Linked DNA regions of Homo sapiens: regions 1, 3, 4, 5 and 6 are each linked to region 2. The links are contacts of gene promoters, found by promoter capture Hi-C in blood cells and fetal thymus (Javierre and others, 2016). All regions are on one chromosome and are shown on one strand. Each heading gives the region's core, a stretch centred on a gene start or on the middle of the fragment in contact. The rest is flanking DNA. Distances are from core to core; before and after follow the strand shown.

Region 1 (2,810 bases), core at 92-2,591, 590 kb after region 2:
CTCCCTCTCAAAAAAAAATTCTCCCTTGCTTTTTGGTTGGGATTATCAAGGCTTTAAAAGTTAGGAATTTAACATTTTAAGAGCTGACTCTGTTGCCAGACCAGACCTTTAAAAAGCCATTGCTTTTCATAGCAAAAACCGCAATGAGTTTTGCACCGACCCAATACTAAAAGAGGGCAAGTGCTCACCATGGCTTGCACTAAATATCAGTTGTCTCATGGTGTAGGAGAGTATTCCTCTAGATTTCTGAAACTGAAATTCAGAAATATATTGTCAAACATAATAGGTTTTAAACTGCAAATATGTAATTATTGTATTTTATATATTTTTATTGTTTTATTGCCATTTTAGAAATTTTAAGCATACAATTCAATGGCATTAATTATATTCATAATGTTGTACAACTATCACCACTATTTCCAAAATATTTCATCTCCTCAAACAGAAACTCTTTATTATAATAATATTAGTTAATAAAACACATTGAGTAACTACAAAGTACTAATCACTATATAGCTATTGTTTCATTTAAATATCATAGAAACCTCATGAGTTAGTTATTTTTATTTTATTCATGAAGAAGTTGAAGATAAGGGAGATTTAACTAATTCCTCTAAATCTAATAAGTAGCAAAATTATAACTAAAACTCAAATATAACACAACCCTATAAGCAAGTCAGATTTTGGGGTCAATGGACTAATACAAAAGTCTGATCACTAACTTACATTGTGTTTCCTCTTAATGGTTTTATTTCATCTTCATATAATAAGATGTCAAAGTGTAAAACTCTGATCTTATAAACTCTGATCAGAATAAAATTACTAAGATTCTTGGCTTTAAAAATGCTTCCATTTACAGATTCTTTTAATAATAGCTCTGGGGATAATTAAGGGTTGCACTAGATTAACTCTTGAAGAGAAAGGAGTCGGTAGACAAAAAAGTTCTGAGTGTCAAATGCTACTGATTAAGGGTTTCACTAAAGGAGAACAAAGAGGTTTTTCAATTAGAATGTAAGTCAATGAGAAGATTAATTTTGATTAACAGAAATACATTTAACCTATATATAATTTTAACAGGAAGATATATATTCACATACAGTCATTTCATGAGTCTCTGAATACTTTAGTTATCTTCTAAAACTCTCAAATTCCCCAGTAAATTCTCAGAGCAGTATCCTATCATTCTCTGGCTCCAAATGCTCAATAGATTTCCATTTTAATTTTTCACAGAATCAACCATCCAGAGAATGGTGCTCCATTTGGTTCCAGTTTTGTTTCTCCTAATTTCCCTTTGTGGTCATTTCTCTTTACAGCATTTGCTCTCTTTCTAGTCTCTCACTCTGAGTTTCAGTTTCCAAGTATTTGTTAAAACTCATTCCCAAATTCCTACTGTCAGAGGCATTGGAACCAGAGCAACTCCATCTTAATAGAGGCTGGGTAAAATAAGGCTGAGGCCTACTGGGCTGCATTCCCAGACACTTAAGGCATTCTAAGTCACAGGATGAGATAAGAAGTCAGCACAAGATACAGGTCATAAAGACCTTGCTGACAGAACAGACTGCAGTAAAGAAGCCAGCCAAAACCCACCAATACCAAGATGGCAATGAGAGTGACCTCTGGTCATCCTCACTGCTACGCTCCTACCAGCACCATGGCAGTTTACAAATGTCATGGCAATGTCAGGAAGTTACCCTATATAGCCTAAAAATGGGAGACATAAATAATGCACCCGTTGTTTAGAATATCATCAAAAAATAACCATAGAAATAGGCAACCAGCAGCTCTCGGAGTAGCTGGTCTGCTCTGTCTATGGAGTAGCCGTTCTTTTATTCCTCCACTTTCCTAGTAAACTTGCTTTCACTTTACAAACTCGTCCTGAATTCTTTCTTACACAAGATCAAGAACACTCTCTTAGGGTCTGAGCTATTATCGGGACCGTTTCCTGGAACAGCACCACGTTCCCTTTTGGTCTGCAAGCCAGAAACTGGAAGTCATCCTTGTGGTTCCTTCTCCCTCACCCTCACAACTACTCTATTACCAGAGCCTGCATGTTTTTTCCTGCCTTATGGGGGTGGCTGCAAAATCTAGCACCCAAACAGGAACGATTCTGAGAGTGAAAAGGACTAATATTAACAGTTATGTCAGCAGGGCACAGTAGATCACGCCTGTAATCCCAATACTTAGGCCGAGACACGTGGATCACTTGAGCCCAGGAGTTCAAAACTAGCCTGGCCAACATGGCAAAACACCATTTCTACAAAAAATACAAAAATTAGCCGGGCATGGTGGTGCACGCCTGTAGTCCCAGCTACTCAGGGGGCTGCGGTGGAAGGATCACTTTAGCCCAGGAGGTGGAGGTTGCAATGTGCCAGATCTTGCCACTGCACTCCAGCCTGGATGACACATGAGACCTAGTCTCAAAAAACAAACTGGCCAGGCGCAGTGGCTCACATGGGTAATCTCAGCACAGTGGGAGGCTGAGGCGGGAGGATCACCTGAGGTCAGCAGTTCAAGACCAGCCTGGCCATCAGGGTGAAACCCTATCGCTACTAAAAATACAAAAATTAGACCATCATGGTGGCACACACCTGTAATCCCAGCTATCAGGAGGCTGAGGCAGGAGAATTGCTTGAACCTGGGAGCTGGAGGTTGCAGTGAGCCGAGATCATGCCACTGCACTCCAGCCTGGGCGACAGAGCAAGACTCCGTCTCAAAAAGAAAGAAAGAAACAAACAAAAACCAGTCTTCAACCACAGGCATACGCTGGGATTCTATGATCTCCAAGTCCACAGATCCTCAGTTTTCTCCAT
Region 2 (2,744 bases), core at 208-2,707:
ACACACTTTCACGGACCACACTCCTTCAGAACTCTTGCCTGGTTTTTAATTATTCACTCATTAGTATCACAATTGGATTAATACTGCATTCCCTCAATAGACTACGCTCCATGAGACCAGAGCCGTGTCTGCTGTGTTTCTGCAGGATGTACAGCCCTCCCAGCACGGTGCTCGCTTCCCTAATGCCATTCCACAGTATTTGTTGCAGAGAAGGAAGCAGCATGCCAGGACAGATGGAGACAGGACTAATTTGGCTTGAGGTATGTAATTTTGAACTTGAGCCTCTCTCTGGGACTGTAAAACTCCAAATCAAAGTCTTAATCTGAGAATACATACATCTGAAAGAGTGATTAGGGACTGGTAAACATCTATTAATATTCAACTCTGATACAAAGTACAAGTTGTTTATTCTTACCACGCAAGGCCAAAAAAGGGGAGAAAAAAAAAAAAGCACACAGCATATGCACTGGGAAAGCTTTCGCTTATTCAAAACAGTATTTGTCAAGCACCTCCAGGTCTGGGTGCTGCAGGGGAAACAAAGATTAAACAGCCAGGGCTTTGCTTCCAAGGTGCTTACGGTCTTAAGAAGGAGACAAGACATGTTTATAAATAGCCAAAATGCAACCCAGAAAAGGCTAAAAAACACTGAGAGGGAGGGAGAAATAAACGAAGCAAGAGGTCTCCGGAGGAAGAGATGAATGAATTAGCCTATTAATAACTCCTCACTGTAATCCCAATGTAAAGCAAGGAATTCCAAACCAGGAAAGGTCAAACTGAAGTATTTGAGGAACACAGGCGTCGCCCTAAGCCCTTCACAGGCTCGCTGGGGATAATATCGCAGCTGAAACCGAACATCAAGCTGGCTTTTCAAACCTTCAGTTATTTACATTAGACTGAGAGGGGAAAAGCGCTAAGAGTGCAAGAGCAGAGAAAGAGCAAGAGGAAACTTGAAAAGGCGGATCACGCCAATGCGCTGTGCACAGCGCCCCCGCGCCCCGCGCACCCGCTACCCCACCCGAGCCCCCAGCGGCCCGCGTCCCCCATCCCGGTCCCAAGCCCAGACACCTCCGAGATCCGTCCCCCGGCTCCGGCCGGCGCCACCGCCACCCTCAAGACCCCCGCAGCCCAGGCCCGGCCCCGCGCCACCGACGCCCCCCGCGGCCCGACCCGCGCGCCCCGCCAGCCCGGGCCTCGTACCGTAGGTTTCGGACATGGCCGTCTGCGACATCTTGGGAGCGGCGCCGCCTCTCGCCGGGTCACCGGCTGCACTCGCCCGCGGTCCGCCGGCGCGTCTCGGTGGGGAAGGACCTGGGGCGGGGGACCGGAGGAGGGAGGGGCCCGACCGGTCCCCACGGCAACCGCCGGTCTCCCAGCGGCTGCGGCCCAGCCGGACTCCAGCTCCGCGCAGGCGCAGGGCCCTCCACCCTCCGTCCGGCCGCGACCGCGAGGAGGAAGAGGAGATGGGCTACGCGAGGCCCGGCCCACCCCGCGTTCGCGCGTGCGCACGGGGAGGCCGGGGCGGGGCGCGTGAGGACTTCGGCGCGCGCCGGAAGCACGTGCGCGGGCTGGGCGCTCTGGCGGTGTGCGCTGAGGTGGGCAGAGCGGCAGGTGGGGGCGTTGGGGGCTGAGTCCCGATTTCCCTGAGGGAGGGTCGGGTAGAGGCGGGCGGTGGGCAGGTTTGGGGGTGACAGAGGGCTGGGGACAGTGGGGTCCAGTTGCCGGACAGAGGAGGAAGGTGCCCGCACTGGGGAGGAAAGCAGTCCATTTGCCAAATTGGCCCGTCTCAGTTAAGACGTTGTCTTCGGTCATCATCTGCGGCTGTCAGCCAGGAAAAAACTTCCCTGACGCTGTTACGATGGAGGCCAGAACTTGGTTAATGTGTAACAAGGAGGCAGTAGGCCCCAGGTGTCCAGCCAGAGGCCGCCCTGTGAATGGGAGGCAGGTTCATTTACCCGTTGGGAAGCTAAGCTTTCACTCCAAACTGCCGGGCCCTCTTGGATGGAGCTGAGCGGGTGTGGGCGGAATGACAGAAGCGCAAGATGCCCAGGTGCTAAAAGGTCATCGCAAGACTACAGGCTGCAGCCTCTCCACATCCCATTTTAGAGGGTTCTGGATTACGGTTGAGAAGTATCTCCCGGCCCTCAGCTGGGGATGTGTTTCCAAATTTAGGAGTTTTTTTAATTTTTATTTTTTAACAGGGTCTGGCACTGTCAGCCCAGCCCAACCGATTCTCCTGCCTCAGCCTCCTGAGTAGCTGGGGCTAGGGGCTCACACGACCACACCGCGCCAATTTTTAAATTTTTTGTAGAGATGGGGTCTTGTTATGTTGCCCAGGCTGGTCTTGAACTCCTGAGTTCAAGCATCCTCCCTCCTTGGCCTCCCAAATTGCTGGGATTACAGGCATGAGTCATCTCACCTGGCCTTGGATAGTTTGGTTTCAGAAGCAAAACTGAGTTAGAATCCCCTTCTGTGGGAAATGTAGAGATAAACATTTATGGGAAAGAGAATTTTGGTTGAGGATTTGGCCCATCTGAGCTTGATCAGGGCCACATAGCGCCTCATAGTTCCCAACCTTGTTCACAATAGGTAGTCGAATGCTCAAAATATCCTTGGCTAAGCTCCCAAGTGACCTGGACTGTGTGGAAAATGCCAGTACATACTTTTGTGTGTGTGTGTGTGAGTCAGTTTGGCTCCATCCTCCACATAAATTGGCATCAGAGCTTCCCTCTTCCCCAGTGGCTATT
Region 3 (2,700 bases), core at 118-2,617, 550 kb after region 2:
AGACAAAATTTATATATTTTGGATATATGAATTCAAATTTCAGCTCATAACCATGTAGATAATCTTACTTGTACTTCTTCTATGCTTATGCTATGATAGTATGTATTATGTATGGAAAATTACATGATAATCAATTTTCTGTTGTTTTAAAATGTTTGTTGTTTGTACACACACAAAAAACTGTGCTGAAGTGCCCATAATCTAATAGGAGTCCTTTTTTTTCTTTTAATTTTCTGTAGAGACGGGGTCTCGCTATGTTGCCCAGGCTGGTATCAAACTCCTGGCCTCAAGTGATCCTCCTGCTTTAGCCTCCAAAGTTGCTCGGATTATGGACATGAGCCACCTTGCCTGGCTTCTAATAGGAATTCTTATGATTATACTGTGAGACCAAATATAAATGTTCATAAAAGGGTGCTTATGTCTAACTTTTTTAAAAGATACGGCGATATTTTAATGTAATTTTCTTGGATTATTTTAGGTCTGCTTGGGAGCAATGATAGTATTCTCAAAAGAAGTAATAACCAGTGCAGGTCAGGAGAGAAAGCTACTGAATTAAGAAAAGATAAATTATTTAAAGGTAAATCAAAAGGACTGGCCAACCTGAATTCAGTTGCAGTTTTATCATTTTTTTTGTTGTTGTTGTTTGCTTGTATGTTTTTTGTTTTGTTTTAAGACAGAGTCATGTTCTGTCGCCCGGGCTGGAGTGCAGTGGTGTGATCCCAGCTCACTGCAAACTCCACCCCCAGGGTTCAAGTGATCCTCCCTCCTTAGCCTCCCAAGTAGCTGGGATTACAAGTGTGCACCACCATGCCCGGCTAATTTTTATATTTTTAGTAGAGGTGGGGTTTCACCATGTTGGCCAGGCTGGTCTCGAACTCCAGACCTCAAGTGATTCACCAACCTCAGCTTTCCAAAGTGCGGGGACTACAGGCGTGAGCCACCACACCCAGCCCAATTATTAATTGTGTGATTTTGAGCCTCAGTAAATATTAGTTCCCTTTTCCTTGATTAGTGTGATAATATACTCCAGAAACAGAATAGTGTGCTAATGACTTTTGGAAAACACACGATTTTATAAATTGAAAATCCAACAGTTTTTATTGTTTCTTTAGAGAATCAAGGCACAAAGTAAATGATCAATAAACATTGGATGAATGCATGGATTGATGAATACATGGATTGATCAACCAATGGATAGATAGGAAAGCAAAATGATACAGGAATATAGAAGGATGTTTTTCTAAGTCTCACTTGATCTGAACTGTAACCAAATATTGACATGGCTGGTGAAGCCATCAGGATACTCCACTCCTCCTCCTTCTACTCTCATATACCCCCTCCAACATAGGTGCTGTAGAATAGATGCCATTAAAGGGCTTTCTAAAATTAAATTTCAAACCTTTTAGACGATATATTCTGTTTTAAAGCCATACTTCCTTTTGATCTCTCAACTGGCTGATTTGAGTTGGTGCTGACACCAGATTTAGTTCACTCCCTCTCAAAACCTGCTTCCCTGCCTAGTAAGAGATGCACTCCCTCCTGCAGTGAGCATCCAGGGTCACCCGCAGTGGACATTCCCAGTTCATGTTCTGGCGGAAGTGTTTATAGCAGTCTACAACCAACCTGGTCCTCCTGGTTCACACCTTAGACTCTAGGCTTCTGGATGAGAAAGACAGTTTTCTAAGTTCTCTCACATAGTCTGCATCTGAGCTTTAAACCACCTTGTACTTATTCTGCATATGCTTCCCTCCTTTCAGAAAGTTCCCTAAGACTCTGGGCCTCTACTTGTCTAATACTTGTTTCAACCCATTTCTTTATCCTGTTGATAAAGGCAGTTTTGATGCTTACTGAAGCTCAGCTTTTTCTACACTCTTCTAGACTGGCAAAGGGCATATCTAAGACAGCCCCAATAATCCTGCCTCCTGGAATTCATGAGTCTCATGAGTCAGAACCACCCAATTAAACTGCTCCCCAATTCCTAACTCACATAAACTTGTTGTTTTCAGCCATTATATTCTGGGCTAATTTTTTAGGTGGCAATAGATAACTAATATACTTCCCAAGCTGTCCAAACCTTAATTGTAGATTCCATCTGTCCTTAAAACTTATTTGCATCATCCTACCATCTTCCCAGCATGGCTACAAGCAAACTTCTTGATTCTCCCTATTTCAAAGCTGTTCTTTCTCCTAAGCCCATTCACTGGAAAGCAATGGATGCATCTTTTTTGGAGGACGTAGGGGAACTCAGGGTATCACCACTTCCTGTCACCTCCCCAGGTTCTCATTATGATCTCTAATTTAAGTGTCCCCAAGGAAATGGTCTTTTGGAATCCTATTTTTAAATACTGAGTTATCTATCTTTACTATGTAGAATAAGAACAGACATAATGTTCTCAAAGGAGGTCAGCCCAGATGAAATGATTGATACATATGTCCTATCCTTTATATTCAGACATGACACTACCCTGCTGGTCCAATGTGTTAATGGAGGGCATGGAATTACCCGAATTTTTTATTGTGTCCAGTTCTTCTGATCTTGAATTAACTTTTTAAATGACTGGCTGGATTCATGGGAGCTGTCCATGGAACAGTTCCTGTGTCCAGAAACACATAACTGGATTAGGTTGAGAAGGAAGTAGGGCGCCACTCTCATTAACTGAAATGACTGGCCACCAATAAAATATCTGTTTATGGTAAGAT
Region 4 (2,775 bases), core at 119-2,618, 570 kb after region 2:
TATAGTCTGGCTCAGTGAATCTTCATTTTTACATAAACAATAGGGCAGAGGAAGCAATCAGATATGCATTTGTCTAAGGTGAGCCTCAGAAGGAGACTTGGAGTTCTATCTTTCCGTTGTCCACCAAGAATTTCCTTGTGGGCAAATTGTGAGGGAGGTATGTCACTTTTTATCTTTGTAGCTATCTTATTTAGGAATGAAATGGGAGGCAGGGTGCCTGACATAGGTCCCAGCTTGACTTTTCCCTTGGCTCAGTGATTTGGGGTCCTAAGATTTATTTTCCTTACACATATCCCAACCAAAGGCAAAAAGAAAGCTATCCTGGATACAGTGTTTATAAAAAGTAGGCCCTCAGATTAAATGGCCTTGATTCTTTTTCAAAGCTATCCATGCTAAGTCCAGGTATAGAGAATGCTTTAATTGCTGTGTTTCTTAATGAGCTCCATCCTGAACTCAGTAGTTTTAGCTAAGAAAAAGTAGCTAAGTTAAGAAGACCACCTATTAAACTAAAACAGTCTCTAAAATATACTTTTCTGGCATTTAGCTGGCTATCTTAAAACACTTTTTTTTTTTCAGAGATGGAGTCTCACTCTGTTGCCCAGTCTGGAGTGCAGTGGCGCGATCTCAGCTCACTGCAACCATCACCTCCCGGGTTCACGCCATTCTCCTGCCTCAGCCTCCCGAGTAGCTGGGACTACAGGTGCCCACCACCACACCTGGCTAATTTTTTCTATTTTTAGTAGAGACGGGGTTTCACCATGTTAGCCAGGATGGTCTCGATCTCCTGACCTCATGATCCGCGCGCCTCGGCCTCCCAAAGTGCTGGGATTACAGATGTGAGACGCCGCGCCTGGCCCCAAAACACTTTTATAGGAGAAATTTATATCTCTAAAAGAAATTTCCATTTGAAAGGGTGTCTGAGAGGGAGGACTGGGTCACTAGAAACTCTTACTGTTGTTTTAAATGTACATACATTGTCTTGCCTTTGTTTAAGGTGCTTTTCCAGGCCATGCTGCCTTAACCGGATCTTTATGTACAATCTTTTCCCTTGGTTTGAGCAACTGATAGTACAATATTTAGGCCTAAAATCTCAGCTCTGTGCTTTTGAGAATTTTCTACCTTGTTTCACCTAAGAGTCATCCCTTTAGGAGGCAGATTGTGGAGTAGCTAACAACTACTTAGAGCAATAAAACAGATAGTTCTAAGACTGATAGTATGAATGGGGAAAAGAAAAACTATTTGAAAGCTGACAAATGAGAATTCTTCATGGAAGCTTTAAGACCTGCTTGTGTCTATATGTCTATATGTGTATGTGATACTATTTGGTGAAGAAAGCTAGTTTTTAAATTGTTGGTAAAATAAAATAAAAAAATGACTTCAGAATTGTCACTTAAAGATAATATAGATATTTATGCCTGAGTCTACTGGTCAGACAGGTTTATGCTATCTCTGCTTCAAGCTTTAAGGTCATAAAACTTCTGCTTCTGTTATGTTTTTGATATTTGCTTGATTTGACTGTGAGCTTATGTTTTTGTTTTCCGAGCCTCTGGATTCTGGGGTCCAGACAGGTGACCTTGGTAACATATGGGGACATGTCCTCAGTGTCTATATCACCACCTACAGGGCACAGTCAAGCTCAAAATGACCCCTTTCTCCCTGGCCCAGCTTTGCCTCCTGGCCATTCTGTGAAGGGCTGAATGCTCCAGTCATCATCTTCATAGCTGTCTTCTGTCCTGAATTCTATACCTAGTATGTAAATTTAGGACCCAGATGGGACCTCCCCTTATAGCCATCCTAGGTGTCATGTGGCTACTTGAGACCCAGGATGACTGGGAAAAACATTAGAAAGGGTACTTGTATCATAGTATTAATATTCTTTTCAGTAATTTAAATCTTAAAGTCATATTATTTTAAATTAAGTACCAGATAATCATAAAATGTCTGAGTTTTTTTACAAGTATGTTAAAATACTAAAACATTAATTATTAAACATAAATTTAAGTTTATATAATTTGGCATCTTATTTTTCTGTGATATAAAAAAGCTAAATATATGTAGATCTGTTAATGAACAAAAATTTGAGCAAACATATCTTTGTAAAAATTATAAAATGGTTTTCATCTATAAATACTGATATAAAACAGTTCAGAATTACTTTTTAGACTTTTACTGAAAATTAGGGTGACTAAGAGTTAAAATTATAGTTAACATATGTAATTAAAACTACATATATAAGAGAATTCTATATACAAAGTGTACTAACAAAAAAGACATGCTTTGATTAAAAAAAAGCTGTAAAAGAATACAAATACATAGCTGTTGAGAAAAAATTACTTTGTCCAGTTTAGAAGTTACTTAAATATTATTTTACGATAAAAGAATTTTAAAAGATATAAATAAAACTAAATAATATTAAAAGTCAGGAAGAAAAAGAATTTTTAAAATTTTGTAAGAGATTATAAAACATTTATGAAATCTGCATGGTCAAAAGCTGACTGAGATTAGTTTGTTTATAAGGTTTTATTAAAATCAGCTTTAATATTGATAATTCATTAATACAAAAGCAAACTTTGGTTTTCTCTTTTAAACAAGATTTTTGTAAAGTAATAATAAGAGATAATAAAAAATTTTTGTTCACTTTTAGAGACATCTCAAAAAAAATGAGACAGCAAGAGGAGAAAAGGAGAGATAGATTCTGTCTAATGCTGTCTTTATTAGATATTTTAATCTTTGGGAAGACTGGGTCTCCTCTAATCAAAGAGTAAAAGTTTTTGC
Region 5 (2,700 bases), core at 163-2,662, 540 kb after region 2:
CCATTTCTCTAAGGTACCTTTGGGATGAAAGGAAGGTCAGAGAAGCAATTTTTTTTTAAAGAAGCAAGACAGTTAAGTGTTTCATACTAGTTTCTGTGAATTTTAACTTTTTCTTAAATTTCAAAAAGACCTGAATAGCAAGATAGAGAATTCCTTTCTCTTTGTATCTACCAAGGGAAATGGCATCGCACCCGGTACATAGGAGCTTTAAGTAGCTTAAAGGGATCCTGAAAAGATACCAACAATCAGAATCCGAGCCCATGTGGGCAGGGAAGGTGGTGGGGCTCAGAAGAAAGAAATGGTGTTTACTCTTCAGGTTTCATCCAAACCTAAGCCTTCACGAGGGCCGCTCGCGCTTTTTCACTAAATCAAGTGTTTTCCCGGCGTCTCCGCGGCTCTTTAAAGCGGAGACGCCCCTTGTGAGCTGAGCCGCCTAAAAGCAAAGGAGCGACGCTCAGGTAAAGGCACCTGCGCGTCACCTTCTGATTGAAACTCTGCAGCGGCGCCAGCGACGTCGCCCTCAGGAAACTTTGCTCTATGCAACAAACTGACCGGGCACCCTGAACTCAACCTGTTTCACTCCTACTTATCTGTTGCTTAAATTGTGAGATTTTTTTTTTTTTTTTTTTTGGCAAGGCTCTGACTGCCGCTCCGCCCTCCTCTCTCCAAGCCCACTCCGCCGTGGTCCTTTCGTGTTAGCTCCGCGCTTGCCCGGTCCCTGAGACTCAGGAAACGTCCTGCACTCCTCATTTGTCCGGCTTCCCAGCTGGAGCCGCGCCCGGGGCCCTGCAGCCCCCTTGGGAACCTCGCGACCCTCGCGCCACCTTCCTTCCCCTGGGTGGACCGCGGCCACGCGCCCCCGGCCCCGGCCCCCCGGCCAGCTCACCGGAGAAGTTGTCGAAGGCAGTAGGGATGTACTCGGTGGGGTAGCCGTTGGTGGTGTAGCTCACCACCAGGCTCGTCTTGCCCACCGCGCCGTCGCCGACCAGCACGCACTTGACGCCGCGCCCCTCGGCACCCCCCGCACGCCCCCGGCCCCCCGGCTCCCCAGGCCCGCGTCCCCCGCGTCCACCGCGCTCCCGACGCGGCGGCACCGGAGGCGCCTCGCAGCGGTCGGGGAACGCGGGGTCCCCCTGCTGCGGGGGCATCGATCCGCGAGCGCGGGCTTGCGGTCGCGGGCTAGCAGGGCCCGGCCCGACCGCCCCTCCGCCCCGGAGGGTTGCGGTAGGGAGGAGCTGTCACCGACAGCTGCGGGCGCGTCCCCGGCCCTGGAGAGTGGCGGTTCCGGGCCGCACGGCCAGTAGACAAAGGCGGCCAGGGAGGGTCGTGGCTCCGCGCTCCGGCGGCGCCAGCCGCTCTGCCCTGCGCTGTTGGAGGACAGCGGTCCGAGCGCCGTGGATCCCAAGCGCTCTGTCTCCGCCCGGCTTCCCGGCGACACGACGCGTGGGGGGCGGGCAGGCGGGCGGGCTGGCGGGGAGGGAAAAGAGGCGGGTCTGGCCGAGCGGCTCGGTCCCCGCGCCAAGACCACAGCGCCCCCCGCCTGCGCGCCGCGCGCCTGCACCCGCGCCCGAGGCGCCGCCGCGACCAGGCGGGGACTGCGAACACTGGCGCGGGAGGACCTGGAACACACGTTCCGGGGGACCCCGCGCACCCGGTCCGGGAAGCGACGCCCGAAGGAGCCGGGCCAGCCTCCGCAGCCTCCTCCCCAGCTCCCAAGAGGGTGACCACCGCGCGACTGGCCCGGGAGGTTCCGCTTTCTGGCGCCCACGCGAGCCAGGAAGCCTGAGCCGCCTCCTATTCACTCCGTGGAGCCCCCGGCTGGCCACGGCTCCACCCAGGGGGAAAAATGAAGTGTCCTGGAGGCCTGTCCTGCGAATGAGATTGAATTAACAGACAGCTTTTTTCCTTAAGTCTAACTGCAGCTGATCGTGTGATTTTTTCTCATTTTGAAGCAAAAGGATGCCAGCTCCATTGTGAATGCTCCTTTGACTTTGTCTTTCGGCATGCCGTGAACCTTTATACATGTATGCTCCAGAAATTTTTTTATACCCCCAATTCCTTCATTTACTTAAAGGTAATTCGGAGACATTAATATGTCTGAAAAAATATTCCGTTTCCCTTTGATTCATTTCTCTCTCTGCCTTCCTTCTACATGTGGTCAACAGTCTATTCAGAAAAAGGACGCCTCTTAGCCAAGTCAGAATACCAAGAGTCCTGGGGGTGTACAGCGTGGTGTGAGAAGGGCCACATATTATTAATACACATTGATACTAGTGGTAGTAAAAATAACAATAACAAATACTGAACTTTCATAATGTGTCAGATACTGTTGTAAGCACTCTTCAAGAACTAATTCTTTTAATCTTAACATTACTTACAGATGAGAACACCTGAGGCACAGAGATATTAAGTAACGTTTTGGGATTCCACAAGCTAGTAAGTGGCAATGCCAGGATCCAAACCCAAATAGTCTAGCCCCAGAGCCTGAGCTTCTAACCAAAATCCTGGAGGCAAAAATAAGTCAGTATGATAAACGTAATCTTGAACGTATGGCCATGGTCAGAATGCAGAGATGGATTTATCAAGAAGTTAGAAGCTTGAATCCAGGACCCCTGACTTGCAAAGGACACTTTCACATTGGAAGACCTAGCAATGTGTACACGTGGTAATATGTTTCTGTAAATTTTGAAAAAAAAAAAA
Region 6 (2,740 bases), core at 52-2,551, 610 kb after region 2:
AGATGCTGGGGTGAAGAAGGCTTTTGTCCATCTTGTGTTAATTATGACCTTTTTATTCTGTATTTTTGATGCTTTGACATCTTGGGGCCTTGCTGACCCTGGAGGGACTGCTTTCTCCCAGGGTAGAAGGTATTACTATTTGAACCACTAGACTGAGTCAAAATGATCTGTCCTCACCAATGTGGATAGGCATTATTCTTCCAATTCCTTGAAGGTCTCAACAGAACAAAAAGACAGGGGAAGGACAAATTTGCTCTTTATTCTGGAGCTAGGACATCCAACTTCTGCTCTCTGACATCAGAACTGCAGGTTCTCAATCCTGGGACTCTGGGACTCATATTAGTGTTCCCCATCCCACTCTACTCAAAGATATATTACTGTCCCCACTCCACTCAAAGATATATTACTGTTCCCCACTCCACTCTACCAAAGATACCTGATTTGAGTCACTCAGAAGACTAGGTAGGGGTTTATTGAGGGAGCTGGCAACCCATCCCCGACATGTGTGACCCAGCCAGAACCAGAGCAGTAGGAGCCTCACTGCCTTCACCCTAGTGCTGCCACGTAGAGCAGCTAGAGCCTCTCCTGTGGACTCAAGCCTGACAGTGGGAGTTCCCTTGGGAAGGTAGGATCACCTTCACCTCTTTATCTTGGTTTCTTTATCGGTACAATGGAAATGGTAATAATAGTACCTAAATCTTGGGGTTATCATAAAGATTAAAGTAATTAAAGCATGTGAAGTGCTTAGACCATGCCTAGTGCATAGCAGGCACTTTATAATCATTTACTTCAATAAAAACATAGGTCCTGGAGCCAAAGGCTTGACCTTAATTGATATGTGAACCAGGTAAAAGTCACTTAGCCATTCTGAGTTTCAGTTTTCTTATTTGTAAAATGAAAATAAAATAGTACCTATCTTGAAGGGTTTTCATGAAGATTAAATAAGCTAATAGGAAGAAATCACCATAACAGCCTGGCACCACAAATGTTAGTTAATAAAGCTTGGCAAGCCGGGCACGGTGGCTCACACCTGTAATCCCAGCACTTTGGGAGGCCGAGGCGGATGGATCACCTGAGGTCGGTGGATCACCTGAGGTCAGGATTTCGAGACCAAAATGGCCAACATGGTGAAACCCCATCTCTACCAAAATACAAAAAATTAGCCGGTCATGGTGGCAGGCGCCTGTAAACCCAGCTACTCGGGAGGCTGAAGCAGAAGAATTGCTTGAACCTGGGAGACGGAGGTTGCAATGAGCTGAGATTGCGCCATTGCACTCCAGCCTGGGCAACAAGGACAAACCTCTGTCTCAAAATCAATCAATCTTGGCAATGAACACGGGTTCCTCCTGGCAAAGGTTTTGGCTCTGTGGGGTAATGCTGCCCTCTGCCGGACAATTTGGTTTCTTGCTTTGTTTGTTTTAATAAACTGTTGGGTTTTTTCCCAAAGTCCCACCCCACCTAGCAAAAAGGTTAACATTCTTCATAAAGATTATTTTCTCAGAATACGTTTCTGAGAAAATGAGTACAAACATGATTTGTTGATTCGCTATCCGCAAATGGCTTTCCTCATTTGAGGAACAAATGAGCCACTTGGAAGCTTACTTGGGCTGCAATTTTATTTCCAATTTTATCTTTATGAAGAAATCCAGGCCGAGCGCAGCGGCTCACACCTGTAATCCCAACACTTTGGGAGGCCGAGGAGGGCCGATGCCCAGGAGTTCGAGACCAGCCTGGGAAATATGGAGAAACCTCGCCTCTACAAAAACTACAAAAAATTAGCCGAGCCTGGTGGCACACATCTGTAGTCCCAGCTACTCGGTAGGCTGAAGTGGGAGATCACGCGAGCCCGAGAGGTCAAGACTGCAGTGAGCCGTGATAGTGCCACTGCTCTCCAGCCTGGGCGACAGAAGATAAGAAAAGAAGAGAAGGGAAGAGAAAAAAAGGAGAGGGGAGAGGAGGGGAGGGGAGGGGAGGGGAGGGAAGGGGAGGGGAGGGGAGGGGAGAAGAAAAAGAAATCCAGCTATGTTGGCCGGGCGTGGCGGCTCGCGCCTGTAATCCCAGCACTTTGAGAGGCCAAGGCGGGTGGATCACTTGAGGTCAGGAGTTCGGGACCAGCCTGGCCAACATGGTGAAGCCCCGTCTCTACTAAAAATACAAAAATTAGCCAGGTATGGTGTCGCGCGCGCGTAATCCCAGCTACGTGGGAGGCTGAGGCAGGAGAATCGCTTGATCTCGGGAGGCGGAGGTTGCAGTGAGTTGAGATCATGCCACTGCACCCCAGCCTGGGGGACAGAGTGAAATTCCGTCTCAAAAAAAAAAAAAAAAAAAAAAAAAGAAAAGAAAAGAAAAGAAAAGAAAAACAGAAAAGAAAAATAAAAATAAAGAAAAATAATGTCAGCTATGTGTTGAGATATTGCTGCTTAATTTTTTTTAACTTTTCTTTTTTCTTCTTAAACTCAATAGTAAGAATATGCTTAACTTTTCCGATTTTCCTTATTATTGCTTTCCTATGAGTTGAGAATATTGTGATAAGTGCCTAGTCTGGTAATTTGCACACACATTGTATTCTCTTGTTACAGTTACAGTGTGATAAAATAAATAAATGAAAAGTCATAGCATGGCAAAAAGTATAGCACTTGAAACACTGTAGTGTGCTAGTTGCCTCACTGTGGTTTGTGATGTGTCTAAAGCAAGGGGAAATAATGAGAACACCACACAAGGTCTCTGTCCAGACTATTCA

What was found. Contacts are between HindIII fragments. The CHiCAGO score rates a contact against its expected background, and 5 or more counts as called.
Region 1: a fragment that was not itself captured here is called in contact with the fragment with the promoter of RAB4A in region 2 in 2 of 17 cell types (naive CD8 T cells and naive CD4 T cells); the score reaches 5.8 in naive CD8 T cells.
Region 3: a contact is called between a fragment that was not itself captured here and the fragment with the promoter of RAB4A in region 2, in 2 of 17 cell types (naive CD4 T cells and neutrophils). The highest score is 7.3, in naive CD4 T cells.
Region 4: a contact is called between a fragment that was not itself captured here and the fragment with the promoter of RAB4A in region 2, in 6 of 17 cell types (naive CD4 T cells, total CD4 T cells, total CD8 T cells and 3 more). The highest score is 8.4, in naive CD4 T cells.
Region 5: the fragment with the promoter of RHOU here is called in contact with the fragment with the promoter of RAB4A in region 2 in 15 of 17 cell types (total CD4 T cells, naive CD8 T cells, monocytes and 12 more); the score reaches 41.6 in total CD4 T cells.
Region 6: a fragment that was not itself captured here is called in contact with the fragment with the promoter of RAB4A in region 2 in 14 of 17 cell types (fetal thymus, naive CD4 T cells, total CD8 T cells and 11 more); the score reaches 20.2 in fetal thymus.

What each region holds. Positions count from the first base shown.
Region 1 is chr1:228,683,958-228,686,767 of GRCh38, reverse strand. It overlaps a transcript of RHOU not described here. Among named protein-coding and RNA genes, the nearest start is that of RHOU, 50 kb to the left of the region's middle. The HindIII fragment of the contact is 9,589 bases long and covers 1-2,810 here.
Region 2 is chr1:229,269,824-229,272,567 of GRCh38, reverse strand. RAB4A (RAB4A, member RAS oncogene family) reads right to left here and starts at 1,457. Exons shown (of 8, transcript NM_004578.4): 1 at 1,198-1,457. The coding sequence starts at 1,228. It overlaps RAB4A-AS1 (RAB4A antisense RNA 1), which reads left to right and starts at 1,414. Exons shown (of 2, transcript NR_149313.1): 1 at 1,414-1,592. RefSeq lists silencers at 916-1,075, 1,116-1,645. The HindIII fragment of the contact is 1,493 bases long and covers 478-1,970 here.
Region 3 is chr1:228,717,700-228,720,399 of GRCh38, reverse strand. It overlaps a transcript of RHOU not described here. Among named protein-coding and RNA genes, the nearest start is that of RHOU, 16 kb to the left of the region's middle. The HindIII fragment of the contact is 4,933 bases long and covers 1-2,700 here.
Region 4 is chr1:228,701,326-228,704,100 of GRCh38, reverse strand. It overlaps a transcript of RHOU not described here. Among named protein-coding and RNA genes, the nearest start is that of RHOU, 33 kb to the left of the region's middle. The HindIII fragment of the contact is 186 bases long and covers 1,276-1,461 here.
Region 5 is chr1:228,734,191-228,736,890 of GRCh38, reverse strand. RHOU (ras homolog family member U) reads right to left here and starts at 1,412. Exons shown (of 3, transcript NM_021205.6): 1 at 887-1,412. The coding sequence starts at 1,148. The HindIII fragment of the contact is 4,915 bases long and covers 1-2,598 here.
Region 6 is chr1:228,663,220-228,665,959 of GRCh38, reverse strand. It overlaps a transcript of RHOU not described here. Among named protein-coding and RNA genes, the nearest start is that of RHOU, 71 kb to the left of the region's middle. The HindIII fragment of the contact is 596 bases long and covers 1,004-1,599 here.